2 separate regions of the Homo sapiens genome follow, and region 1 is linked to region 2. The links are contacts of gene promoters, found by promoter capture Hi-C in blood cells and fetal thymus (Javierre and others, 2016). All regions are on one chromosome and are shown on one strand. The core of a region is centred on a gene start or on the middle of the fragment in contact, and the rest is flanking DNA. Distances in the headings are between cores, read along the strand shown. Region 1 holds the start of ZDHHC21 (zDHHC palmitoyltransferase 21). Region 2 holds the start of SNAPC3 (small nuclear RNA activating complex polypeptide 3).

Evidence for each region. Contacts are between HindIII fragments. The CHiCAGO score rates a contact against its expected background, and 5 or more counts as called.
Region 1: the fragment with the promoter of ZDHHC21 here is called in contact with the fragment with the promoter of SNAPC3 in region 2 in 4 of 17 cell types (naive B cells, total B cells, activated CD4 T cells and 1 more); the score reaches 9.7 in naive B cells.

The regions. Positions count from the first base shown.
Region 1 is chr9:14,692,182-14,695,450 of GRCh38, reverse strand. It overlaps ZDHHC21 (zDHHC palmitoyltransferase 21), which reads left to right and starts at 2,019. Exons shown (of 10, transcript NM_178566.6): 1 at 2,019-2,222. RefSeq lists an enhancer at 1,514-2,014 and silencers at 2,088-2,157, 2,238-2,377. The HindIII fragment of the contact is 5,494 bases long and covers 1-3,269 here.
Region 2 is chr9:15,421,590-15,424,739 of GRCh38, reverse strand. It overlaps SNAPC3 (small nuclear RNA activating complex polypeptide 3), which reads right to left and starts at 1,864. Exons shown (of 9, transcript NM_001039697.2): 1 at 1,547-1,864; 2 at 754-831. The coding sequence starts at 1,860. RefSeq lists an enhancer at 1,388-1,507 and a silencer at 1,848-2,137. The HindIII fragment of the contact is 2,004 bases long and covers 1,416-3,150 here.

The DNA.
Region 1 (3,269 bases), core at 770-3,269, 730 kb after region 2:
GACAGGCTAACTTATTTTAAAAAGGGACTGAAAAATCCATGCACTTCCAATTGTCATGTGCAATCATGGACCTGTCAACTAATTCTTATTTTGGCAGTTTTGAGATCACTTGTCACAAATTATTCCCTCTCACAGGGGTATCTGAAGAGAAAGCAAAATAATATGCAATTCATGTAGCTGGATTCAGGTGGAGGGGATTCTACTTTTAATATGCAATTGGGTAGCTGGATTTGGGTGGGGGGGGGATTTTACATTTAATATGCAATTCTGGTAGCTGGATTCGGGTAGGGAGGAGTCCACATTTAATATGCAATCAGGTAGCTGGATTTGGGTAGAAGGGATTCACATTGAATACGCAATCAGGTAGCTGGATTCCGGTGGGAGGATTCCACATTTCCTCTTCCTTCAAAGTGATTGTTTATATGAAATATCTCCTTCTTTTCAAACAGAGAAAGTTACAAAAATCCTACTACATCAAATGATTTATGAAAAATAAAGGTAATTCTATCAAAAGCAATCGTGACTAGTCTTTCAACCTCGCTATGCATATATCGGGGAGTGTATTTGTTAACCTGAAAGGCAATAAAATCTGCTTATGGGTAAATCAATTCCTACCACTGGGTTCTTTTGGGAATATCTAGTAATCTAGGTCAGTAATTCTAAAACTTGAGTGTGTATTAGGATCACCTAAAAGGCTTGTTACATCACGGATTGCTGGGCTACACCTAAACAGTTTCTACTACAGTAGATCTGGGATGGGGCAAAAGAATATGGATTTCTCACAAGTTGACAGGTGATACCGATGCTGCTGGTCTAGGGATCCCACTTTGATAACCACTGACCAAAGTTTTTAAGGTCACAAGGTGTTTATAATTAGTTCAGAAACCAGGACACAACATGTTTAAAAATCCTTAGCAATACAAGGTAATATGAGGCCCCAAACAGGCAACAATGTGCACTATATAAGGGCAGTGGTGAGAGAACTCTGGTTTGGCAAGATTTCCACTCTCAAATCTGGATAGGGTTAAGATCATCAGAGAGCAGGGCATTCTAGAATGGGGAAATGAACCAAATTAGTTGGAGCTAAGACTGGAGAGGTAGGTAGGGATGTGTCTGTGGAGGGCTTTTAAGCACATCTTATAAGGAATACAGATTTTATACAACAGGTAATATTTCTTCCACCAACACACTGTCTCCTCCTGTGGCACGTGGGCAGAAAGATCTAGCTCCACATTACTGCAAACGGTTTAACCTTCCCCAAATACTGTTCAGCCGGAGTGAGGTGGGAAAGTTAGTAGATCTCTGGTGTTTGGTGAAGATACCAAGTTAGACTGAGAGGTGGATTACTTGCATCGCTGAGTCCAAAAGTTGTCGGCTTTTGCAGGGATGGGAAAGCAGGAAACTTTTGGAGGTCTCCCAAAATATAAGAAAAGATTGTTTGGGTGTGGATTTAGGTTGAGGACAGGAACAGGAAATATCCTGGGATGTCTGAGGCAACCCAATAGAGGGTCTGAAGTGGACGAGACCATGCACTACAGTGCAATGCTTTTCCATCTTTACGGTGCACCCCAGGAGTCACCTGGTGATCTTGCTGAAGTGCATGTACTGATTCAGCAGGCCTGAAATTGTGCATTTCAAAGATTGTGAGTTCCCAGAGGATGCTGATGCTGCAGACCGCGCTTTGAAGCAAGGTACCATGGGACATCCCAGAACACCTGCGGGGAGAGAGGCCTGCTGGCCACATCCCCCGAAGAAAGGATACATGCAATCTTTTAAGCTAAGGCCCCCATCCTGTCTCTCGGGAGAGGTGAGCAGTGAGGATATGGGGACAATGAGAAGGACGGCTCAAGTAGGGCTGGGGAGGGGCAGAGGCGCCCAGGCGCGCCAGGTGCAAGCGCTCTGGAGAGTGCGGTCTGCCTGGGTCCGCGGCTCTGGGGCTGCGGCGCGATTGCAGGAGTTTCGGCCCTCAGCGGCTCCCATCGCGGCTCCCGGGAGCTAAGCGAGACGGCGACGGCGGCAGTCGTCCCTCCCCACGCGGGCGCGCGGGCATGCGGACACCCACTCGGCCGGTCCAGGCCCTCAGGCTCCCGGAAGCGGAAGGGGAGAGCGGCCCGGCCTGGGCGGCGGCGCCGGAGGAGGCGGAGGTGGCGCGGCAGGAGGAGGGGAAAGAGCTGCTGGCGGTCGGGAGAGCGGCGGCAGCGAGAGGCGAGCCAGCGGCGACGGTGAGTGTGCAGGCGCGGGGGCGAAGCGGCCGCCCCCACCCCCATCCCCATCCGCACCCCCACCCCCATCCCCGGCCCCCGCTCCGCTCTGCCGGGCCCGCCCGCCGCTCCTCCGCGCCGGGACGCCCTCACCTGTTCCTGCACGCCCCCTGCACCTGCTCTGTTTGGAACCCGGGGGTTTCTCGGTGCCTCCCCGCCCCAGGCCTGGCCTTTTTCAGAGCGTCTTCTGCTAGAGCTACAGCCCCTTGCTAAGTGCTCCTCCCTCAACTGGGGGTGGGGGGTTCCTGCTCTAGTCGAGACGATGTTGGCTAGTTATTTATTTATTTATTTTAAATCTGTATCCTGAGTTTCTCGCTTGTAAACTACAGTTTCTCTCCCCGCACCCCCGTCTGGAGACCTGCACTGGGATCCCGGGTTTCTCTGTGCTATTCCAGAGCTTTTCATTCATTCCAGACTTCTGGTGTGAAGCTGCAGAGAGGACAAACAGTTTGCTCCTTTATTGACCTTCTCACTCCTCTCCTCTTGATCCAAAGAGGTTTTCGGAAAATGGCTTATGGATGGCAGCAGTTTGCACTTGTTACTGTTCACTGTAACAGGTCGCTGGATTGTAACTGCAGAGTCCATTTAAGTTACGGTCTTTTTCAAGCTATATGTGGGTCACATTTTAAGATCCCTTGAGAGTCAGGGTGGATGTCTGTATCACCAGGGCTGAGAGGACATGACCAATTATTACTTTAAAATATTGCAATATAGCAGTCTCTAAAAGTAGAAGAGAAAAAAAAATCAAGGTCATTGTGGGCGGGTCATAAATTATATTGTAAAGTTACAGTCCAAAGGCGACTAAGGATAATTAAGTGCAATTTAAAAAGATGTGTTAAATAGGTCCTCAGCCTACTATGCTAATATATGCACTTTTAAAAATTCACTGCTTTCCTTGTGGTAAGAATAATATTAATAACAGTCACCATTTGATGACTGCTTAGTATGCGCCATTCCTGGATTAAAAGGCTTTTGGTGTAATATTAAATTCTTCCAACTCTTTAGATT
Region 2 (3,150 bases), core at 615-3,114:
TCACTATTACATGCACAATTTCTCTATATTATCATACAACAGTGCCTCTCAAAGAGTGGTAGGCAGACCAGAATTCATCTATGACCTATTTGTTAACCAATCTGTACAGAAAATGACAGTAAGCATTTAGAAACTTCCATTATCATTGAATAATTTTGTCTATTGAATTTAATTAAAAATTTGAACTTATATTGTGTTTGTCTTTTTTAATTCCATTTTTCTAGTAATTCTTTTTATAGTATTTTATCAAAGCATAAATCTGTCAAAGATTAAAAATTTTTAAAAACAAGAACTGTCCTTTACCACAAATAGTTTGAAAAACACTGTCAGAGTATTTAGGTTGCCCCCCAGATCTAAGTAGATTACCTCTATAAACAAACATTCAAAAATATTAAAAAATAAACACAAGTTTGAATATGGACTGAATATTATAGATTATGTATTTACGGTTTTCTTAGGTATAATAATACCACAATAATTATGTAGGAGAATGATACTTTTAGAAGCTATATGCTTATGTATTTACGGGTAAATTATCATGTCTAACTTACTGAATGGGGGATAGCAAAATGAAAAAACACACAGCAGGCATCCCATACACACGGCTAAAGTAAATATGGTCAAATATTAAGAACAGCTGAATTTAAGGGGTGGGTATACAGACAACAATCAATACTGCACTTTCAACTTTTCAAAACATAATGTTGAAAAAATGTTTAAATAAATAGGTCATAAAAACCAAGTCCTCCATACCCCAAAGTCACCAGGTCAGTATTCTCCGGAATGACTTCTGGATCCTCACCGTCCTCAAGGCATTTCAGTTTATCAAGGCTAAAACAAAAAGGAAAAGCAATACTTTAAGGTCGACTCTGCATCTGGTTCACAGCGAGTTAGGGTTGTTTTCCTAAATACATTACTGAATTACGAAGTCAGATAAAATCCAGCAGGCGGCTCAGAGAGGCCAGAACTTAAGACAACGATTTCTGTGATTATATTTTATAATGAAAAGGCCGATGAAGGCAGCCAGTACTGTTAAATGGAGAAAGAGATTAAAGTTATTTTTATATTTTCATCCCCAAATAAGGCACTTTTAAGAAATATTTCAGTAACAGAATACCCGGAAGGTCCCCAAAAGAAACCAGTTAGTCGGGGTTTTAACACTCCTCTGATGAAGTCTCCCGCAGCTTCACCATTACTCAGGTTCCTCCATTGTCAAAGTGTCTGTCAATGGCAGGTACACGTCGCTGTTGCCCTGATTGCTTTTCTTTATTAACAAGCACTCTTAGAATAAGCAAATGGAAAAACTAGTCTTTGATGCAGCTGTCTTGTCCCTTTGCTCCAACTCGTAGAAACTGTGCATTCGGGTCCCAGGACTTCTCCTGGTGTCCCAGGAAGGCTCCAGCGGGTTGAAAGCTTTAAAGGGTAATACTCCTAGCCCAGGTCTAAACCACAGGCCCTTCTCAGGGATGAGTCCCAGAGGAGCGCACGAGCAAGGCTGCACCCTGTTTGACCCCAAGCTGCAAGAGCCCCTTTGCTCCGCACTCACCCGCACACCGCCCTCAGCTCAGCCGCCGCCTCCAGGCTGCAGTCCAGATCCCTGGCCACCGCGGCATCCTCCCGGTCGGAGTCAGCTGCCTGGCTCCCAGGCAGAGCGGATGCCGGCGGCTCCCTCAGCGACAAGTCCCCGGCCCCGCGCAGACGGCCCCGCCACAGCTCCCCAAAGGCGCCCACATGGAAAGCGCGCGTATTTAGCTCGGGAAGCTCATACTCTGGAAAGTTGCAGCCGCCACTGCCGGAGACTGGGTCCTGCCTGCCACCCACCCCGCTACACGTAGGGCCACCTCGGCTTCCTTCAGCCATGTTCGCCCCACTCCTTCCCCTGCAAAAGCCTGCAGATCAAGGCCTCGCAGAGCGTGATGGAAGTTGTAGTTGCTTGGGGCGCCCGGCCGGCGAGCGGCGAGGCGGCGCGGGCAGGGCATCAGAAACTACATTTCCCGGCAGGCCATGGGCAGGCCCGCCCCAGGGCGCGGCACCGCGAGGCTCTACGTGCAGGGCGCAGCATTGTTCTCCGACCCGGGCGGTGCGGGAACCGTTGCGGCTGTCGGTTAACCGCAGCGGGTGGGGCTGGGTTTCTGGTCCCCGAGTTACGTAGCAACTGTCTCTGCCCGGTAGGGCGGCCTCGCCAGGCGCTTAGGCCCCGTTCCTTGCGGCTTTCGGACTAAGGGGTGCAGGGCTTTTTCTTGACTGGGGTTCAAGGACTGCTCTGCTGCCTGATTGCTTTAGAGCCTAAGAAACAAGGAGGGCGAGGGCCGAGACCAGGGACACGACCAGCCCTCCAGATCTGGTTCTTTCACAAGCTCCGCAGAGGCCCCATGTTGGTGTGCGTGTGCAGTAGTGTTTCAGAGCGTCTGTGTATCACACGCTACATGATTAACCCTAATGTATGTTTTTAATGTTTTTAAAAATTACAACAACCTTTCCGGATAGGGCGTATCACCCCGTGTTGCTGTTGAGGAAGGATTTACCTGCGGGGAAAATAGAAGCAGGATCGGAACTCAGTCTGGCTTCAGATGGAGCTCTCTCCATTTCTCAGAGGCCCTGAAGGATACAGCAGGACATACTATTTATTTATTAGACTGTAATCACATGCCATATAATTCACCCATTTGAAGTGTTCAGTGATTTTTGGTATATTCACAGGCTTGGGCAACCATCACCACTATTTGAGAGCATTTTTACCACTCGAAAGAAGAAACTTGTACTTTTTAGCTATCACCCCTGATCCTCCCAACTCCTCCAGCCCTAGCCAACCAAGAACCTACTTTGTCTCTCTAGATTTAACTAATCTGGACATTTAATATAAACGGAATTATATGGTCTTTTGGTGGCTGGCTTAATGTTTACAAGGTTTGTTACAGGTAGTTAGGCATGAGCAGGGCAGGAGAGGGCTCTTCCCTCACCCACTAGGAATGTGGGGTGATGCTTAGGCATTTATCACATTGCCTCTAAAAGTGATAAATTGGCAGCCGGTGCCAGGGAGAGGCCATTTCCTGATGGCCCACACCTGTTGCACTAAAGTGCTCGTTGAATGCAGGTGACAGGGAGAAGCAACTTCCTGGGCATATGCATTAAGAGACAAAATCGGGGAGT